Regions from separate parts of the Homo sapiens genome. Here regions 1, 2, 3, 4, 6 and 7 are each linked to region 5. Evidence: promoter capture Hi-C in 16 types of primary human blood cells and fetal thymus (Javierre and others, 2016). All regions are on one chromosome and are shown on one strand. The core of a region is centred on a gene start or on the middle of the fragment in contact, and the rest is flanking DNA. Distances in the headings are between cores, read along the strand shown. Region 1 has its middle 1.9 kb from the start of MIR4666A. Region 2 has its middle 3.3 kb from the start of GALNT2. Region 3 has its middle 6.0 kb from the start of RHOU. Region 4 has its middle 120 kb from the start of PGBD5. Region 5 holds the start of CCSAP (centriole, cilia and spindle associated protein). Region 6 has its middle 45 kb from the start of RHOU. Region 7 has its middle 71 kb from the start of RHOU.

Region 1 (2,700 bases), core at 91-2,590, 880 kb after region 5:
CATTACGGCTGTCACTTCGAAGGGGTTTGGGGAGACCTTAAAAACAATAGGAAAGACTAAGTTTCATTTGAAACCCATTCAATTTCTCCAGTTAAAACTCTGCCTCATGACAATTCCAATTGAAGTACCTTAGCATGTTTTCTGTACTATTTTCTGTATTTCCTAACGAACCGTTTGGATTTACAATTGAATTCTGAGAAGAATGCATCTCTTTGATCTTTGGAGGAATGGAGGGAAGGGCAAGAAACGAAGGGTTAAGGTCGTTGCAAACTGCCATTCCCACCGCCACCTCCCCTTCTAAATAAGCACTAACTACCCCTCCCTAGCTGTGGGCCTCAGAAAAAAAAAATGCCCCCATGTATGTGCCTCACAGCCAGAGAAGACCTCAATTTGGGGTTGCAACCGTTTTTCAGTTTCTCTTTAGCTACCTCCAGATCCGCTGCAGACACAAAAATCTCCAGGTTTAAAACAAAGGCTTTGAACAAAGATGCGCAACCTCAGCTCCGGCGCGCGGCGGATATGCCTTGGGATTGGTTGGACCGCCGTCCAATAGGAAAGAAGAACCGGACTCTGCTATTTACAGAAATTCCTCCCAGTGGCGGCCGCGGAGTCAGGCCGTCCAATCAGACACTACAAATTTGGAGCCTTAATTTGAATATAAAGATGGCAAATAGCCCTGCCGGCCCCGCATCCGCGTTCGTCTAGGCGCTCTTGTCACCTCGCCATGCCGGAGCCATCGCGGGCGGCTCCGGCTTCTAAAAAGGGCTCCAAGAAGGCCATTACCAAGGCGCAGAAGAAGGACGGCAAGAAGCGCAAGCGCGGCCGCAAGGAGAGCTATTCTATCTACGTGTACAAGGTGCTGAAGCAGGTGCACCCCGACACCGGCATCTCGTCCAAGGCCATGGGCATCATGAACTCCTTCGTCAATGACATCTTCGAGCGCATCGCCAGCGAGGCCTCCCGCCTGGCGCACTACAAACAAGCGCTCCACCATCACGTCCCGCGAAGTGCAGACGGCCGTGCGCCTGCTGCTGCCCGGCGAGCTGGCCAAGCACGCCGTGTCCGAGGGCACTAAGGCTGTCACCAAGTACACCAGCTCCAAGTGAGGTGCGTCCCGGCGCCCCGAACCCAAAGGCTCTTTTCAGAGCCACCTCCAAGCTCCAAAAGGAGCGTGCCACCTGGTCTGGTTGTGACCTGTGATTCAATTGGAGTAATGAGGGAAAGTAGACTGAGCCGTGGGGGCGCAAGTCTTAGAGACAAAATTAGGCTTCTTGTTTGTAACGGCATATTTCCCTTAGAAAGGCTGCGTTCGTCTTGTGTTGGCCACAGGCAAAGTCAGAGAGGGGGCAGTACAGGCGATTGCGCCATGGATCCCATCCAAAGATCTGTGTGTGGCTTACGCCCTGCGCGCGAGGAGCGTGGGTCACCTCCGGGAAGATCTTGTGCCACGTCCCCGCCCCCAGTGCCTCCTGGCGGCTGAGACTGGAGGACGTGCTCACTGAGGTCCGGGGTTGGAGGTGAGGGGGTTATCGCGCCGTCTGGGCGGAGGCGCTTGGGTCCGTTCTTCTCCCGCCCCTTTCCTCCCTCCTTAGCCACAACTAGACACTGTGAGCTTCTAGCCAAAACCATTTCAGCAGCGTTGCGCCTAAGCAGCTCTTTATGCCACGCCTTCCTGCTTGAAACATCAAAACAGCAGGCTCACAGATCTCCTTATCACTCAGCTAAAATTTCCCCAATTAAGGGATTCTCGTATTTTACCCCCAAAATGTGTGTGTGTGTGTGTGTACGCATATTACACAGTGAAAGATTATTTTGAATAATGCAAATATAGTGCTTTTTAAAAAAAACTCCAGCAAATCATAGGAAAAATAAGTATGATCTCTGGATGACACATTAAAAACTAAGGCATGCAGGCCTGACTGGGGCCCAGGCTGTCCTCCCCCTAAAAATACCCCATACCGGTGACACCCCAACCACGAATACCTGAGAGCTACCCACCCTCTAAGCAAAAACGTTGCCTGGAATTAGAATTCGGTTTCCAGGCTCAGTTCCCACTGGTAGAAGATGCACTCTACCCAGGCTCAGTTCCCACTGCACACTCCCAACACAATGACAGCCACGCATTTATCAACATTTAACCTCTCTGGCCTCATAAAGTAAATCCATTTTCTTGGGTTAGTTTCTTCTTAAAGGGAGTTTTCTTTCCTCCAAATTCTTTTTGTAAATAGGCTTTATTTTTTAGAGCACTTTTTCAGAGCAATATGCTTTTTTATTAGTAGTACGTAATAGTTGTACATATTTGGGGGGTACAAATATTTTGATATACGCATAGGCTTAACAATCAAACCAGGGCAACTGGGACATCCGTCATCATATTCACACCCTCTTTAGGTCGAGATCATTCCAATTCCTCTCCTCCAGCAATACAACTAATTATTGTTAACTACAGTCACCCTACTTTTCTAACCAATACTAGATGTTACCATTTCTTCTAAGCATATTTTTGTACCCATTAATCAACTTCATCTCCTCCTTTCCCCACCACTCTTCCCAGCTTCTGGTAACCAGCAATCAACTTTCTACCTCCATGAGATGCATGTTCTTAGCTCCCACGTATGAGTGAGATCATGCAGTATTTGTCTTTCTGTGCCTGATTTGTTTTACTTAACATAATGTCCTCCAGTTCCATCCATGTTGCTG
Region 2 (2,700 bases), core at 105-2,604, 720 kb before region 5:
TGAAGAATGGCAAGAAAACAATCAAGAAATTGAAAATAATATAAAGATAGAAGTAAAAAGGTTCAGAGAGAAGAGGTTAAAATAAAAGCCAGGAAAGGAAGACCAAAATACATGTTAAGTGGAGTCCCTAAAGTACAAACATTAAACAATAAAACCTAATTAATATTAAAACTATAACCCCAGAAAATAATCCAGGAATAAGGGAAAATTTAAATGTACATGTCAAAAGTGACTTCCATGTACCTTGGGAAATGATCTGGAATTATCAACTCCTAAATATATTTTAGTAAAACGATTAGATTTTAAAGGCAAAAAAGATCAAATTGCTTATAGAGATAAAAATTTATGCTGGCATCAGACTTCTGAACAGCAACATGCAAAGCCAGGCAACAGTGGAGCAGCATTAACAAGGAACAAAAGTGCCAGGCAGGCTGGGCATAGTGGCTCATGCCTGTAATCCCAGCACTTTGGGAGGCCAGAGTGGGTGGATCACCTGAGGTCAGGAGTTCAAGACCAGCCTGGCCAAAGTGGTGAAACCCCATCACTAAAAAAAATATGAAACTTAGCCGGCAGGTGCCTGTAATCGCAGCTACTCGAGAGGCTGAGGTGGAAGAATCATTTGAACCCGGGAGGCAGAGGTTGCAGTGAGCTGAGATCATGCCATTGCACTCCAGCCTGGGTGACAGAGCGAGACTCCATGACACACACACAAAAAAGTACCAGGCAGTGATTTTTATACCCAGCCCTCAAGTGTCAAGGTTGTAGGCAAACAGATATGACCTGAATGCAAAAATTCAGAGAACGTGACTCACATGGGCCTTTCATGAGGAATCTTAGAGAATGAGCTTCCTCCAACCAAGAGACAGCTGAGGAAGCCAGCAGAGTGACTAATGGAGAGCATTTTGTATATTCAGAAGGTGAAAGACTAGTGTATATACATTATACTTTCTGATAAACTTAGAACAGGTGCAACTAAAGACAACTGGAGGAGAAGGGGAAGAGCGAAGGGAAAATAGAATAATATCATTGTCTGCAATATCAGTAGCAGGTAGTAGTGAAAGGATACCATATAAAACAGACAGACCAGATGTTAAAAGGTTAGAAACAAAATATAGGAATTAAGGGTAATATATTAAAAATATAAATAAAAATCACTACAACAAAATATATGTATTCCCAAATATTGGAAACCCTATTCCAAAACCCCAAAAGTTCTAAAAATAGCAAAGAATACATACCAAATAATGAAAGAAACACAGTAAGTGTGGCACAGTGATGCAGTAGTTATAATAGGAAACAATATGACACAGCTGAGACCAACCCACATCAGATATAACAATTTATAAGTGGGCTCAGTTCACCCTTTAAAATAAAAGATTTTCAAATGTAGGCATAACGGAAACCCCAACTCTGAAAAAGCAGGTGCTGTGATTCTGATATCAAACAAAACAGAGTAGGCCAAAAAGCATTAAATGAGATGAAGAGGGACAATTTATAGCCCAAAACTTCCCTTCCTAAACACTTATCAATTGTATATCATTAGGATTTGATCTGCAAAGTAAAATCATTATTAGTTTGATGGAATAAGCGATGTATGATAGAGATTAAACTTTAGACAATGTTAGAGGTAGAAGAAAAAAGGTTATGGAAGTCTTTCCATTGTACATGGGGCAGGTCTGAAGTCACTGTAGTTTCTAGACCTGGGAATCAGAAGAATAGCTAGATGTGACATGGGGCATTTCAAAGACAAAGTCAAAACTGCAAGGACAAAATGTACCTCATGAGAACAACTAGAATTCATGAGGACAAACTGTAATGTACCTCCAGTGTTGATTATGGAAATAAAAAACAAAACACAACAAAAACCCACAGTGAGATACCACTTCATATCCATTAGGATAGCTATTATATAAAATTTTTTTTTTTTTTTTTGGTGGACACTTGCTCTGTCGCCGAGGCTAAAGTGCAGTGGCACAATCTCGGCTCACTGCAACCTCCACCTCCTGGGGTCAAGCCATTCTCCTGCCTCAGACTCCTAAGCAGCTGGGCCTACAGGCATGTACCACCATGCCCTGCTAATTTTTGTATTTCTAGTAGAGACAGGGTTTCACCATATTGGCCAGGCTGGTCGCAAACTCCTGACCTCATGATCCACCTGCCTCAGCCTCCCAAAGTGCTGGGATTACAGGTGTGAGCCACCGCGCCCAGCCTATAAAACATTTTTAAAATAAATAAATAAATAAATAACAAGTGTTGGTGAGGATGTAGAGAAATTGGAACCCTTACGCACTGCTGTTGAAAATGGTATAGTGGTTCCTCAAAAAATTAAATTTAGAACTACTATATGATCCAGCAATTCCATTTCTGGTTGTATACATAAAGGAATTGAAAGCAGCGACTCAAACGGATATTTGTATATCCACATTCATAGCAGTGTTATTTACAGTGGCCAAAGGGTGGGACAACACAAATATCTATCAACAGATAAATGGACAAGCAGAATGTGGTATATCCATGCAATGGAATATTATTCAGCCCTAAAAAAGAAGAAAATTCTAACACATACCAGAACATGGATGAACGTTGAGGACAATATGCTAGATGAAATGAGCGAGACACAAAAAGACAAATACCAAATGATTTCACTTATATGAGTTTCCTACAGTAACCAAAATCATAGAGGCAAAAAGTAAAATGGCA
Region 3 (2,700 bases), core at 195-2,694, 610 kb after region 5:
ATAACATTTCACCATTTACTGAGTACCAAATCAGAACAGCACGGTTTTTTTGGATCTTTCATTTTAGCAGGTCATATAACTCTGTGTGTTCATTCACTCTTTAAATGGTAACCCTTTGCCTTGGACACATTAATCTGATTTCTTTCCTTCAGCAGTGCCCTAGTTTTTTCAATACCCTATAAGAGGACATCAGAAGAATATTTCTCTAGAACTGGAGACTCTAAGCTGGGTTGTCTATTGCCAGCATGGCTGTCTGCTCCCAGAATTTCCTTCTTTGTATGGTTCTCGGCTAAAGTTGTCCGGAGACATGATTCTCAGAATTGAGAAGACTGAAGGGAAGTGGAGGAGGGTCATATGGTCAAACATGCCAGTGGATGGACACAGCGGTGCCCAGCACATCCTCACTAGCCTCCTGCTTTGCAGTGATATCATCTCACTGCTGGCTCTGCTGACCCAGAGCAGCCTTCAGCCCTCACCCAGCCCCTGGGCCCCAAAGAGGCTGCAGTCCCTACACCTCATGCCTCAAGCTTCCCTTCCACAGCCTCCAAGGGCCATATCTGCATAACTTACTATTGGCTTTTCTCCAAGTTCCCACCAGTATCCTGCACAAGGGTTTCAGCTGGTCAGGGTTAGGCACTGTTTCCCTCTGAACTTCCCCAGCAATTCCCAAACTTGTGAAAGCTCTCCTTCCTTAACCCTGTACCTTGGAGTGGCTCTGATTTCCTGACTGGGCCCTGACCAATAGTTTCTTGTTTACCACTGGGGATGTCATCCTAGGAAAAAAAAATGACAAGGAAAATGTCTTGCCATGTTTCACTAGAAAAGATGGGGAAATCATATAAATGTCACCAAACCACCAAATGGGCCACCAGTGGCTCCTTTCAGGAATCACAAACATCAGTTAGTGTCATGGTAAGGGCTCAGACCACATGGTTGGTTGGATGTGCTGATACTAGTTTCCCTGCCTCCAGAAGTCCTTTTATCACCTGCCATCACCTTGTAGATAACTAGAATGGATAAATTAAGCTCTTCCATTGGTATCATGAAAGTTTAAGATGTAAAAATCAATCCTTAATTTTGATTGTAAAAATTATTTCTGAAACTGTTTATGTTGTTTTATACTAGTCAGATTAGGCTGTACTATGCTGCAATAATAAGTGAACTCAAAATTTCAATGTCTAGAAACATAGGAGTTAATTTTTTGGTCATGCAAAATTCACAGCAGATTTAGTAGCTCTCCAAGGCAGCTCCCTTTCAAGTGGAGACTCAGGGATGCAGTCTTCTTGCATCTTGTAACTATGCCACCTGTGACACTCATTTCTGTGTGTGCATACCCTGCATTTCTATACATGAACATGTGCATTCCTGTCTGTATATGTACCCGTGCATTTCTATGAGTGAACACATGGATTTCTGTGGGTGAACAAATGCGTATAATGGCAATTTTATAAGAGCTCAAAACTAAAAACCATATAAATGTCTAAAACAGTAAAATGGATGAGTTAATTTGGTAATTCATGATATACTACTATTCAGTCAAGAAAATGAGTGAACATACAGGAATGAATCTCATCAACTAAATGAGAGGTGAAAGAAATCAGACACAAAGGAGTATAAACTATCTTATTTGATTTATATAAAATTTAGAAATGGACAAAACTTGGCCAGGCACGGTGGCTCATGCTTGTAATCCCAGCACTTTGAGAGGCCCAGGCAGGTGGATCATGAGGTCAGGAGTTCGAGCACAGCCTGGCCAATATGGTGAAACTCCGACTCTACTGAAAATATAAAAATTAGCCCAGCGTGGTGGTGCATACCTGTAGCCCCAGCTACTTGGGAGACTAAGGTAGAAGAATCGCTTGAACCCGGGAGGCAGAGTTTGCAGTGAGGCAAGATCGTGCCACTGCACTCCAGCCTGGGCGACAGAGCGAGACTCTGTCTCCAAAAAAAAAAAAAGAAAAGAAAAGAAATTGACAAAACTCATCAGTGCTAGATGTCAGAGTAATTGGGGGCAATTGTTACATTCAGGAAGGAAAGGGGTCATGGGAAACTTCTGATGTTCAGGCAATTTCTTGATCTGAGTGGTGGTTTTATAGGTGTGCACTGTATAGTAATTATTGGCTATATATTTGTTTCATTCACTTTTGTGAATCATGCTATATTTTTAAATTTTAAAGATTAAACAAATTCAAACATATAAATCATATTAAACAGAACTCATGGTTATTTGCATTCCAAAGAACTGTTTGCTTTAGCTTAGCACAGTGCTAATCACATATTGTAAACTTTTTGAATTAAATAACACTCTAATAAAATTTAAATGTGATTTGAGTACCAAAATCCTATTTATACAAAGCTTTTCCAGGAACATGAAGTACTGCACATCATTTACATCTTTAATATTTATTTTTAATGGGGGTATCATCTTCCACCATGGCTATTTATAAGTGTTTTAATATTTTAACTAACTGAACTGGTTCTGCAGAATTATCACAAGAGATAAATGGCAATTTATATGCATCAGTTCTGGAAGAAAAATGAAAGCACCAGGGAGAGCCCTTAGAGGGATGGCAGGTAGATTTGCCTAGAGGAGAAAGGCTAGACTCGCTGCTAACGTGGAAAACAGATGCTGTTCTAGGCAGGCTGAGCTACACTGGTGGCACCTTTCCTGCATTAGTCTTGGTTTATTTTCCTCTGTTA
Region 4 (2,700 bases), core at 182-2,681, 960 kb before region 5:
AGGCAGAGGCAGAAATGATTGGCTAGAGTGTGCTGCGGTGAGTTCCAGGGGGGTGACCAGAAGACAACTAGGACTTGAGGGAAGCTGAGCCAGCCAGGAAAGTGGAGGGAGGGAAGGCCTTCGACATAGACAGGGAGTGAGCTAAGGTGTTGGGAGGGAGCCAATGAATGAATGGGGTTGGGTGGTGGGGGGAGTAGTTGGATACGAGTCAAAAAAGTGGATTAAGCCCCAGTGCTGAAGGGCCTCATGGGCAGGAAAATCATTATTTCTTCTGTAGGGCAGGAATTCAGGGCTCCACTTGTAAGGAAAATATTGTTTTGTGTATGTATATGTGACTTTCTTTTTCTTTCTGGCAAGAAGTCCATAGATTTCATCAGTTACAAAGGTTCCATCAACCTGCAACTGTTTAAGCTTAAGTGTCCTTGCCCCAGACTTTAAATTTTTCTTTCTCAGTAAACTAAGGGATGTTTACTGTAAAAGCATTGACTTGTTTGTGATGCTTCACGTTGGGCTAGAGGTGAGGTTTGGGGATACACCCTTGGAAGGCTGTATCAACTCTACTTACAGATGCTTTTGATGTCGTCCCCGTGATACCAACGAGTGAAACTCCCGTCATTGTAGATGACTGTCAATAAACATCCTTGCCTTTCCCATTTTGCTGTTGGCACAACCTGTTTTTTTGTTTTGTTTTGTTTTTTGTTTTTTTTTAAATTACCAAGGCCAGGCACAGTGGCTCACGTCTGTAATCCCAGCACTTTGGGGGCCGAGGCGGGCGGATCACGAGGTCAGGAGATTGAGACCATCCTGGCTAACATGGCGAAACCCCATCTCTACTAAAAATACAAAAAATTAGCCGGGCATGGTGGCAGGCGCCTGTAGTCCCAGCTACTGGGGAGGCTGAGGCAGGAGAATGGTGTAAACCTGGGAGGCAGAGCTTGCAGTGAGCGAGATCATGCCACTGCACTCCAGCCTGGGTGACAGAGCAAGACTCCATCTCAAAAAAAAAAAAAAAAAAATAGCAAAAGATACTTGGACATGTCATCATAAGAAATTCTCGTTAGTATTCATGCTTTTCATAAAATGATGAAATTGACCTTCACATGTCTTCCTTCCCTCCTCCACCCCCACCACGAGAGGGCATTGACTTCCGCCCTCTGAGTCTAGGAGAGGTAAGCACTGTGCATCAATTTAGTTTTACTTTCAGAGCTTGGTACAGTTTGGATATTTGTCACCTCCAAATCTCATGTTGAAATGTGATCCCCAGTGTTGGAGGTGGGGTCTAATGAGAGGTGCTTGGATCATGGGGTGGATCCCTTATGAATGGCTTGGTGCCATCCCCATCGCAATAAATGAGCTCTCATTCTGTTAGTTACCTTTAGGTTTGGTTGTTTAAAAAGAGCCTGAAGCCAGGTACGGTGGCTCATGCCTGTAATCCCAGCACTTTGGGAGACTGAGGCAGGAGGATCACTTGAGGTCAGGAGTTCAAGACCAGCCTGGTCAACATCATGAAACCCCATCTCTACTAAAAATACAAAAATTAGCTGGGCTTGGTGGCAGGTGCCTGTGATCCCAGCTACTCAAGAGACTGAGGCACAAGAATCGCTTGAACCCAGGAGGCAGAGGTTGCAGTGAGCCAAGATTGCACCACTGCACTCCAGCCTGGGTGACTGAGCGAGACTCTGTCTCAAAAAACAAGAGCTTGGGGCCAGGCTTGGCAGCTCATGCCTGCAATCCCAGCACTTTGGGAGACCCAGCCAGGTGGATCACTTGAGGTCAAGAGTTCAAGACCAGCCTGGCCAACATGGTGAAACCCTATCTCTACTAAAAATACAAAAATAAGCTGGGCTTCTTGGTGGGTGCCTGTGATCCCAGCTACTTGGGATGCCAAGACCTGAGAATCTCTTAAACCTGGGAGGCGGACAGGGGTTGCACTGGACCAAGTTCACGCCACTGCACCCCAGCCTGGGTGAAAGAGTGAGACTCCATTTCAAAAACAAGTAAATAAAATAAAGAGAGACTGGCATGTCCTCCCCTTTCTCTCTTGCTCCCTTTCTCTTGCCATATGACATGACAGCTCCCCTTCCCCTCCCACCATGATTGGAAGCTCCCTGAGACCCTCAGCAGAAGCAGATGCTGGTGCCATGCTTCTCTGCAGCCTGCAGAACTGTGAGCCAAATAAACCTCTTTTACTGATAAATTACCCAGTGTCCGATATTCCTTTATAGCAATACAAAATAAATTTATTCAGAGCTCTTTCTAGGCCTTTTTACATACATGCAGCCTTTTTCTTTTTTAAAAACATTAATTGGATCAGATTATACATATTTGTCACTTTTTCTCTTATCATTGATCTTTATTTACATGTGTCTACGCTATTTTTAAATGATGTAATATATGCCATAGTATATATGTACAAAGATAACAAAATTATTCCCCCATTGATAAGCTTTTAGAATGTCTGGCTTTTTTTTTTTTTTTTTTTTTTTAGATGGAGTCTCTCTCTGTCTCCAGGCTGGAGTGCAGTGGCACAATCTCAGCTCACTGCAACCTCCGCCTCCCGGGTTCAAGTGACTCCGTCCCTTCCTCTTGGTGTATAGATATATGACATTTAATCACACTTGTAGACTCCAGTAATCACCACCTCAGTCAGGACGTGAAACTGTCCTATCTCCCCAAAGAAACTCCCTTATGCTACTCCTT
Region 5 (2,700 bases), core at 47-2,546:
GCTATGATGAGGTGGGCGGTGGTGGTGGGAGGCAGGATGCGGACACGTAGAAAGTAGGTGAATTCGTGGGAATCCTGACGTGGAAGCCGTGAGCGCTACTCACGGCCTGGGCTTGCTTTTTAACTGCTATATATATATTTAGATTTTCCAAAAGTTTTTTCCTTTCAAATCTTTTTGCAGCTACTGTATCAAGGCTCTTTTTTTAAGAAAGGGAAAATAGTGCAGGACCACTTCTGAAACTGTAACAAATGGGGCAACGTTGTATTCTTCTGTACAATGTAACTGGATCTGTGAAGGTTTTTATTTTTTATTTTTTATTTTTTTTGAGACGGAGTCTTGCTCTGTCGCCCAGGCTGGAGTGCAGTGGCGCAATCTAGGCTCACTGCAAGCTCCGCCTCCCGGGTTCACGCCATTCTCCTGCCTCAGGCTCCCGAGTAGCTGGGACTACAGCCGTTCACCACCACGCCGGGCTAATTCTTTTTATTTTTATTTTTTTAGTAGAGATGGGGTTTCACTGTGTTAGCCAGGATGGTCTCGATCTCCTGACCTCGTGAGCCACCCGCCTCGGCCTCCCAAAATGCTGGGATTACAGGCGTGAGCCACAGCGCTCAGCCGGATCTGTGGAGGTTTTATGAGCAAAAAGGGAAAACAGTGCGGGGCCACTTTTGAAACTGTAACAAATGGGGCAACGTTGTATACTTCTGCACAAAGTAACTGGATCTGTGAAGGTTTTATGTGTAAAAAGGGAAAAGAGTGTGGGGCCACTTTTGAAACTGTAACAAATGGGACAACTTTGTATACTTCTGCACAACGTAAGTTAATCTGTCAAGCTTTTATGTGCAAACGAATCTCTGAGCGAGTGAAATGGTTTTGATCAAAATCTAAAAGAATTTGGGGAGTGTAGATATAAAAGGGAGTTAAAGCCAGAGTAACAGGTGTTGTGAACACAGAGAGGAAGAACCGGTAGGTTTCGAGTGAGGACAGAGAGTGTCGCCCCCGGCCGCAGCCTGGGGGGGCTGCATATCTGGAGGGATCATCTCTTGCCCCTAACTGACGACTCCTGCAGAGTGACGCGTGCCTGGGACAGCGTCTGCTGGGACCAGGGTGGACGGGCACCTCAAATAAGTGGGCCAGGGACCTGGGCCTGGGCCCCTCGGACTGGCAGGCACGCCCGCACCCCCGCGCCTCGCGCTCTCTACGGAAGCAGCCGCCCCCACGGAGCGGGCGGAGGCCCGGGGGCCGGGAGCGCGCGTGGAGGCTCCGGGACTGAGGCGGCGCCACCGCCTCCCGCCTGCAGCTGGAGCGCGGGCCGCCGCGGCGACATCTTGCTCAGGAGGAAAGCGCGCGGGAGAGCGAGCTGCGCTTTAGCTGCTGCGCCACGCGCGCCTCGGGCCTGGGCGCAGAGGATCGGCCGGGCGCGGCGGGAAGGAGGTAAGGCAGCCCCGCGGGACCGCACGCCTAGCTCAGGGGACGCCTCCGGAGACCCCAGGACCACCCGATCACGGGCCCCGCCGCTCCCCTCCCTCGCTCCTCCTCCCGCTCAGCCCCAGTCTCCTGCGGTCCCCTCGCCCCAGCCCGCAGCCTCCCTGCCTTCCGCCCACTGAGCAGCCCTCCTCGGCGGCGCGCCCCTCGACCCCAGCAGCCCCGGTCCCCGCCTCTGCTCTTGGTCCCGGCCGCCGGGTGAGGCCGCCCCCGCCCCGCCCCCTCCCCGCCCTCGCCGGGACCCGCCCCCTGCTCCCGTCCGGGCGGGGCTCCGGGTTTAAACGTCGCGGCGGGCAGGGCCGGCGGAGGGGCGGGGCGGCCTCTGTGTCGTGTACCGGGTCCCGTAGGCTGCGGGCAGCGAGGAGCGGCTGGCGCTCGAGGCGGCGGACGGCACCATGTCCCCGGGGAGCGGGGTGAAGAGCGAGTACATGAAGCGCTACCAGGAGCCGCGCTGGGAGGAGTACGGGCCGTGCTACCGCGAGCTGCTGCACTACCGCCTAGGCCGCCGGCTGCTGGAGCAGGCGCACGCGCCCTGGCTCTGGGACGACTGGGGCCCGGCCGGCTCCTCGGAGGACTCGGCGTCGTCAGAGTCGTCGGGCGCCGGGGGCCCCGCACCCCGGTGCGCCCCGCCCTCGCCCCCGCCGCCCGTAGAGCCGGCGACCCAGGAGGAGGCGGAACGGCGGGCGCGCGGGGCCCCGGAGGAGCAGGACGCGGAGGCCGGGGACGCGGAGGCCGAGGACGCGGAGGACGCGGCTCTGCCAGGTACCCGGCCCGGAGGGGAGCGCGAGGGGCCTGCACGCAGGGACGGTTTGCTCTAAGCTCTGAGCAGCTGATCTCTTATTTCTTGCGCCACTCGGGGCTGGCTCTTCCTTTTTTTTTTTTCGGTTGACAGAATCCGTCTCTCTTGACAAAATAGGGAAGGTGGCAGCCTTTGCCACCCTTTATTTCCTTAATTAGGTGGCTTTCGGTCGAGCCAGCGGTGAACTCAATTGAAGCGCCGCTGGCTGAGTCTGGGGTCTTTCCTCGCGGGCCTCTGCGGCTTGGCAAACCTCTGAATCCCATCTTATTTCTTGGCGAACCACTGAGTCCCATCTGCTTATTTCTAGGCGCCCATTTTTGATCAGAGGAGCCCCAGCTTTAATCAGATTCTCAAAGGTAACCCAAAAGGTTAAGAACCACAGAGCTAAGCTTTGTCTGATGAATGGGGCCATTGTTTTC
Region 6 (2,700 bases), core at 20-2,519, 650 kb after region 5:
TTGGCTCTAATTCTACTCATCTTCCAGTCTTGGGTTTTCAGTGCTCACCTGACACCAGGATCTGAATTTAAAATATCTTGGGCACCACCTTGTGGTCCAATTGTTCTACCCTTTGTAAAAGTGCTTATGCAAGCTATTTACTCATTACTTCGTACATAATTACAGCCTAAAGTATTTATGGTTAAAAGCAACCACTGCATTTTTGAAGGTCTCATGCAGTCAAAGAGGAAGTTCATGATTGCATTTAGTCTGTACTTAATGGATACTCTAAGTCTAATCATTCCCAAGTACAATAAACTTTGGATAATATGATTAAATACTTCTGCCATGATTCTTTTAACCTTCATATTGACTTTGTTAACGTTTGAAACGGTTGCCTTGGTGAGAGGGGATAGCAGAAACTAGATTTATAGCTGTACTGTTTGGGTCAAATTTTACCCACTGTTCTTAGATACTGAGGATTAAGGATGAAAAATTATAGCCTGCAAAACTTATGTCCACACAAAATCTGTACATAGATATTCATAGAAGCTTTATTCATAATTGCCAAAACTTGGAAATTACTAAGATGTCCTTCAGTAGGTGAATGGATAAGTAAACTGTGGTACATCCTGAATATCATTCATCACTAAAAGGAAATAAGCTATTGAGCCTCTACAAGACATGAAGAACCTTAAATGCATGAAAGAAGCCAATCTGAAAAGGCCACACACTATAAGATTCCAAGTATATGCTATTCTGAAAAAGACAAAACTATGGAAACAATAAAAAGATCAGTGGTTGCCAGGAGTTGGAGGGAGGGAGGGAGGGAGGGAGGGATGAGTGAGTGGAGCACAGATGACTTTTAGGCCAGTGAAACTCCTCTGTGTGATACCGTAGTGGTGGAAACATGTCCTTACACATTTGTCAAAACCCATAAAATGTACAACACTAAGAGTGAACCTTAATGTAAACTACAGACTGGTGATAATGATGTGTCAATATAGATTTATTGATTGTAACAAACGTACTACTCTGTAGGAAATGCTGATAGTGAGGGAGGCCTGGAAAGAGGATATGGGAACTCTCTGCATTTTCTGTTCAATTTTCTGGGAACCTAAAGAGGTTTTGAAAAATAAAGTCTATTTAAAAAAAAAAAAATTATAAGCTGAATCCTCGCAGTTAATTTAGCTTCTTTCACAACCAAACTTTTACAAGTAACTGAGTTAAGTCGTTTCCTCCCTAATTTGAAGGCACTATTAATGACAACATAAAAGCACAAAACACAGTACTTAAGCACTATGTGATACACTCTTTTAAAACTAATCTTCCACCATGCACGGAGGCTCACGCCTGTAATCTCAGCACTTTGGGAGGCCGAGGAGGTCAGATCATGAGGTCAAGAGTTCGAGACCAGCCTGCCCAACATGGTGAAACCGCGTCTCTACTAAAAGTAAAAAAATTAGCCAGGCTATGTGGTGGGCGCCTGTAATCTCAGCTGCTCGGGAGACTGAGGCAGAAGAATCGCTTGAAATCAGAAGGCAAAGGTTTCAGTGAGCCGAGATCACGCCACTGCACTCCAGCCTGGGCAAAAGAGCAAAACTCCATCTCAAAAAAAACCAAACAGCCGGGCCTGGTGGCTCACGCCTGTAATCCCAGCACTTTGGGAGGCCAAGGCGGGCGGATCAGCTGAGGTCAGGAGTTCGAGACCAGCCTCAATATGGAGAAACCCCGTCTCTACTAAAAATACAAAATTAGCCAGGCGTGGTGGTGCATGCCTGTAATCCCAGCTACTCAGGAGGCTGAGGCAGGAGAATTGCTTGAACCTGGGAGGCGGAGGTTGCGGTGAGCCGAGATCATGCCATTGCACTCCAGCCTGGGAAACAAGAGCAAAACTCCATCTCAAAGAGAAAAAAAAAAAACAAACAAACTAATCTTCAGCATTTGGTCTCTCAAGTTGCCCACTTGGCCCTCTTTCAAGTGTACCTTCCTTCCTTTTCTTCCTTTCCTTACTTCTCTAAAGCTTTTTAATAAACTTTCACTCCTGCTCTAAAAAACAAAAACAAACAAACAAACAAAACAAATCTTTTAAATAAAAATCAGTCTGATCAAAGAAAATTACAGCAAGTAGTACAGAGAGGTAGCTCTTTAACACTTAGTAAATGTCTTAAGTGTATTGTTTGGGGGAAAGGACACATTGAAACAGCGTTAAGAATTGATTCTGCGTGCTCCAATTACATTTTTTTTAAATTCCGGTTTCAGGCACACTGGAAAGTGTGGGAAGAGAAAGTTCTTGCTGAAATTTTGATTAAATTTTCAGTCTCAGGAGACTGACCCAAACATTTCATGGTTCACAGATGGCTTATAACAGTGGTTCCCAACATTTTTGTTGCCAGGGACCAGTTTCGTGGAAGACAATTTTTCCACGAACTAGGGGTGGTAGGGATGGTTTCGGTATGAAACTGTTCCATCTCAGATCATCAGGCATTAGTTAGATTATCATTAAGAGCCAGCACCCTAGATCCCTCACATGCACAGTTCACAATAGGGTTTGAGCTCCTGTGAGACTAATATCACTGCTGATCTGACAGGAGGCGGAGCTCAGGTGGTAATGCTCACCCACTGCTCACCTCCGGCTATGCAGCCTGGTTGCTAACAGACCACAGACCAGCACCTGTCTGCAGCCCAGGAGTTGGGGACCCCTGGCTTAAAACAAAGTAG
Region 7 (2,700 bases), core at 28-2,527, 680 kb after region 5:
TGTCCATCTTGTGTTAATTATGACCTTTTTATTCTGTATTTTTGATGCTTTGACATCTTGGGGCCTTGCTGACCCTGGAGGGACTGCTTTCTCCCAGGGTAGAAGGTATTACTATTTGAACCACTAGACTGAGTCAAAATGATCTGTCCTCACCAATGTGGATAGGCATTATTCTTCCAATTCCTTGAAGGTCTCAACAGAACAAAAAGACAGGGGAAGGACAAATTTGCTCTTTATTCTGGAGCTAGGACATCCAACTTCTGCTCTCTGACATCAGAACTGCAGGTTCTCAATCCTGGGACTCTGGGACTCATATTAGTGTTCCCCATCCCACTCTACTCAAAGATATATTACTGTCCCCACTCCACTCAAAGATATATTACTGTTCCCCACTCCACTCTACCAAAGATACCTGATTTGAGTCACTCAGAAGACTAGGTAGGGGTTTATTGAGGGAGCTGGCAACCCATCCCCGACATGTGTGACCCAGCCAGAACCAGAGCAGTAGGAGCCTCACTGCCTTCACCCTAGTGCTGCCACGTAGAGCAGCTAGAGCCTCTCCTGTGGACTCAAGCCTGACAGTGGGAGTTCCCTTGGGAAGGTAGGATCACCTTCACCTCTTTATCTTGGTTTCTTTATCGGTACAATGGAAATGGTAATAATAGTACCTAAATCTTGGGGTTATCATAAAGATTAAAGTAATTAAAGCATGTGAAGTGCTTAGACCATGCCTAGTGCATAGCAGGCACTTTATAATCATTTACTTCAATAAAAACATAGGTCCTGGAGCCAAAGGCTTGACCTTAATTGATATGTGAACCAGGTAAAAGTCACTTAGCCATTCTGAGTTTCAGTTTTCTTATTTGTAAAATGAAAATAAAATAGTACCTATCTTGAAGGGTTTTCATGAAGATTAAATAAGCTAATAGGAAGAAATCACCATAACAGCCTGGCACCACAAATGTTAGTTAATAAAGCTTGGCAAGCCGGGCACGGTGGCTCACACCTGTAATCCCAGCACTTTGGGAGGCCGAGGCGGATGGATCACCTGAGGTCGGTGGATCACCTGAGGTCAGGATTTCGAGACCAAAATGGCCAACATGGTGAAACCCCATCTCTACCAAAATACAAAAAATTAGCCGGTCATGGTGGCAGGCGCCTGTAAACCCAGCTACTCGGGAGGCTGAAGCAGAAGAATTGCTTGAACCTGGGAGACGGAGGTTGCAATGAGCTGAGATTGCGCCATTGCACTCCAGCCTGGGCAACAAGGACAAACCTCTGTCTCAAAATCAATCAATCTTGGCAATGAACACGGGTTCCTCCTGGCAAAGGTTTTGGCTCTGTGGGGTAATGCTGCCCTCTGCCGGACAATTTGGTTTCTTGCTTTGTTTGTTTTAATAAACTGTTGGGTTTTTTCCCAAAGTCCCACCCCACCTAGCAAAAAGGTTAACATTCTTCATAAAGATTATTTTCTCAGAATACGTTTCTGAGAAAATGAGTACAAACATGATTTGTTGATTCGCTATCCGCAAATGGCTTTCCTCATTTGAGGAACAAATGAGCCACTTGGAAGCTTACTTGGGCTGCAATTTTATTTCCAATTTTATCTTTATGAAGAAATCCAGGCCGAGCGCAGCGGCTCACACCTGTAATCCCAACACTTTGGGAGGCCGAGGAGGGCCGATGCCCAGGAGTTCGAGACCAGCCTGGGAAATATGGAGAAACCTCGCCTCTACAAAAACTACAAAAAATTAGCCGAGCCTGGTGGCACACATCTGTAGTCCCAGCTACTCGGTAGGCTGAAGTGGGAGATCACGCGAGCCCGAGAGGTCAAGACTGCAGTGAGCCGTGATAGTGCCACTGCTCTCCAGCCTGGGCGACAGAAGATAAGAAAAGAAGAGAAGGGAAGAGAAAAAAAGGAGAGGGGAGAGGAGGGGAGGGGAGGGGAGGGGAGGGAAGGGGAGGGGAGGGGAGGGGAGAAGAAAAAGAAATCCAGCTATGTTGGCCGGGCGTGGCGGCTCGCGCCTGTAATCCCAGCACTTTGAGAGGCCAAGGCGGGTGGATCACTTGAGGTCAGGAGTTCGGGACCAGCCTGGCCAACATGGTGAAGCCCCGTCTCTACTAAAAATACAAAAATTAGCCAGGTATGGTGTCGCGCGCGCGTAATCCCAGCTACGTGGGAGGCTGAGGCAGGAGAATCGCTTGATCTCGGGAGGCGGAGGTTGCAGTGAGTTGAGATCATGCCACTGCACCCCAGCCTGGGGGACAGAGTGAAATTCCGTCTCAAAAAAAAAAAAAAAAAAAAAAAAAGAAAAGAAAAGAAAAGAAAAGAAAAACAGAAAAGAAAAATAAAAATAAAGAAAAATAATGTCAGCTATGTGTTGAGATATTGCTGCTTAATTTTTTTTAACTTTTCTTTTTTCTTCTTAAACTCAATAGTAAGAATATGCTTAACTTTTCCGATTTTCCTTATTATTGCTTTCCTATGAGTTGAGAATATTGTGATAAGTGCCTAGTCTGGTAATTTGCACACACATTGTATTCTCTTGTTACAGTTACAGTGTGATAAAATAAATAAATGAAAAGTCATAGCATGGCAAAAAGTATAGCACTTGAAACACTGTAGTGTGCTAGTTGCCTCACTGTGGTTTGTGATGTGTCTAAAGCAAGGGGAAATAATGAGAACACCACACAAGGTCT

What was found. Contacts are between HindIII fragments. The CHiCAGO score rates a contact against its expected background, and 5 or more counts as called.
Region 1: a fragment that was not itself captured here is called in contact with the fragment with the promoter of CCSAP in region 5 in 1 of 17 cell types (total CD4 T cells); the score reaches 5.2 in total CD4 T cells.
Region 2: a fragment that was not itself captured here is called in contact with the fragment with the promoter of CCSAP in region 5 in 1 of 17 cell types (fetal thymus); the score reaches 6.9 in fetal thymus.
Region 3: a fragment that was not itself captured here is called in contact with the fragment with the promoter of CCSAP in region 5 in 5 of 17 cell types (naive CD4 T cells, total CD4 T cells, total CD8 T cells and 2 more); the score reaches 8.0 in naive CD4 T cells.
Region 4: a contact is called between a fragment that was not itself captured here and the fragment with the promoter of CCSAP in region 5, in 1 of 17 cell types (fetal thymus). The highest score is 6.5, in fetal thymus.
Region 6: a contact is called between a fragment that was not itself captured here and the fragment with the promoter of CCSAP in region 5, in 4 of 17 cell types (total CD4 T cells, non-activated CD4 T cells, total CD8 T cells and 1 more). The highest score is 8.0, in total CD4 T cells.
Region 7: a fragment that was not itself captured here is called in contact with the fragment with the promoter of CCSAP in region 5 in 15 of 17 cell types (total CD4 T cells, fetal thymus, naive CD8 T cells and 12 more); the score reaches 16.0 in total CD4 T cells.

Annotation. Positions count from the first base shown.
Region 1 is chr1:228,462,619-228,465,318 of GRCh38, reverse strand. It overlaps the pseudogene H2BC27P. Among named protein-coding and RNA genes, the nearest start is that of MIR4666A, 1.9 kb to the right of the region's middle. The HindIII fragment of the contact is 3,883 bases long and covers 1-2,700 here.
Region 2 is chr1:230,062,541-230,065,240 of GRCh38, reverse strand. It overlaps a transcript of GALNT2 not described here. Among named protein-coding and RNA genes, the nearest start is that of GALNT2, 3.3 kb to the left of the region's middle. The HindIII fragment of the contact is 4,741 bases long and covers 1-2,700 here.
Region 3 is chr1:228,728,156-228,730,855 of GRCh38, reverse strand. It overlaps a transcript of RHOU not described here. Among named protein-coding and RNA genes, the nearest start is that of RHOU, 6.0 kb to the left of the region's middle. The HindIII fragment of the contact is 1,829 bases long and covers 530-2,358 here.
Region 4 is chr1:230,304,824-230,307,523 of GRCh38, reverse strand. No RefSeq gene overlaps it. Among named protein-coding and RNA genes, the nearest start is that of PGBD5, 120 kb to the left of the region's middle. RefSeq lists a silencer at 1,123-1,212. The HindIII fragment of the contact is 2,035 bases long and covers 414-2,448 here.
Region 5 is chr1:229,341,643-229,344,342 of GRCh38, reverse strand. CCSAP (centriole, cilia and spindle associated protein) reads left to right here and starts at 1,296. Exons shown (of 4, transcript NM_145257.5): 1 at 1,296-1,431; 2 at 1,830-2,244. The coding sequence starts at 1,878. RefSeq lists silencers at 1-141, 988-1,847, 2,048-2,247. The HindIII fragment of the contact is 1,840 bases long and covers 833-2,672 here.
Region 6 is chr1:228,689,526-228,692,225 of GRCh38, reverse strand. It overlaps a transcript of RHOU not described here. Among named protein-coding and RNA genes, the nearest start is that of RHOU, 45 kb to the left of the region's middle. The HindIII fragment of the contact is 1,471 bases long and covers 534-2,004 here.
Region 7 is chr1:228,663,236-228,665,935 of GRCh38, reverse strand. It overlaps a transcript of RHOU not described here. Among named protein-coding and RNA genes, the nearest start is that of RHOU, 71 kb to the left of the region's middle. The HindIII fragment of the contact is 596 bases long and covers 980-1,575 here.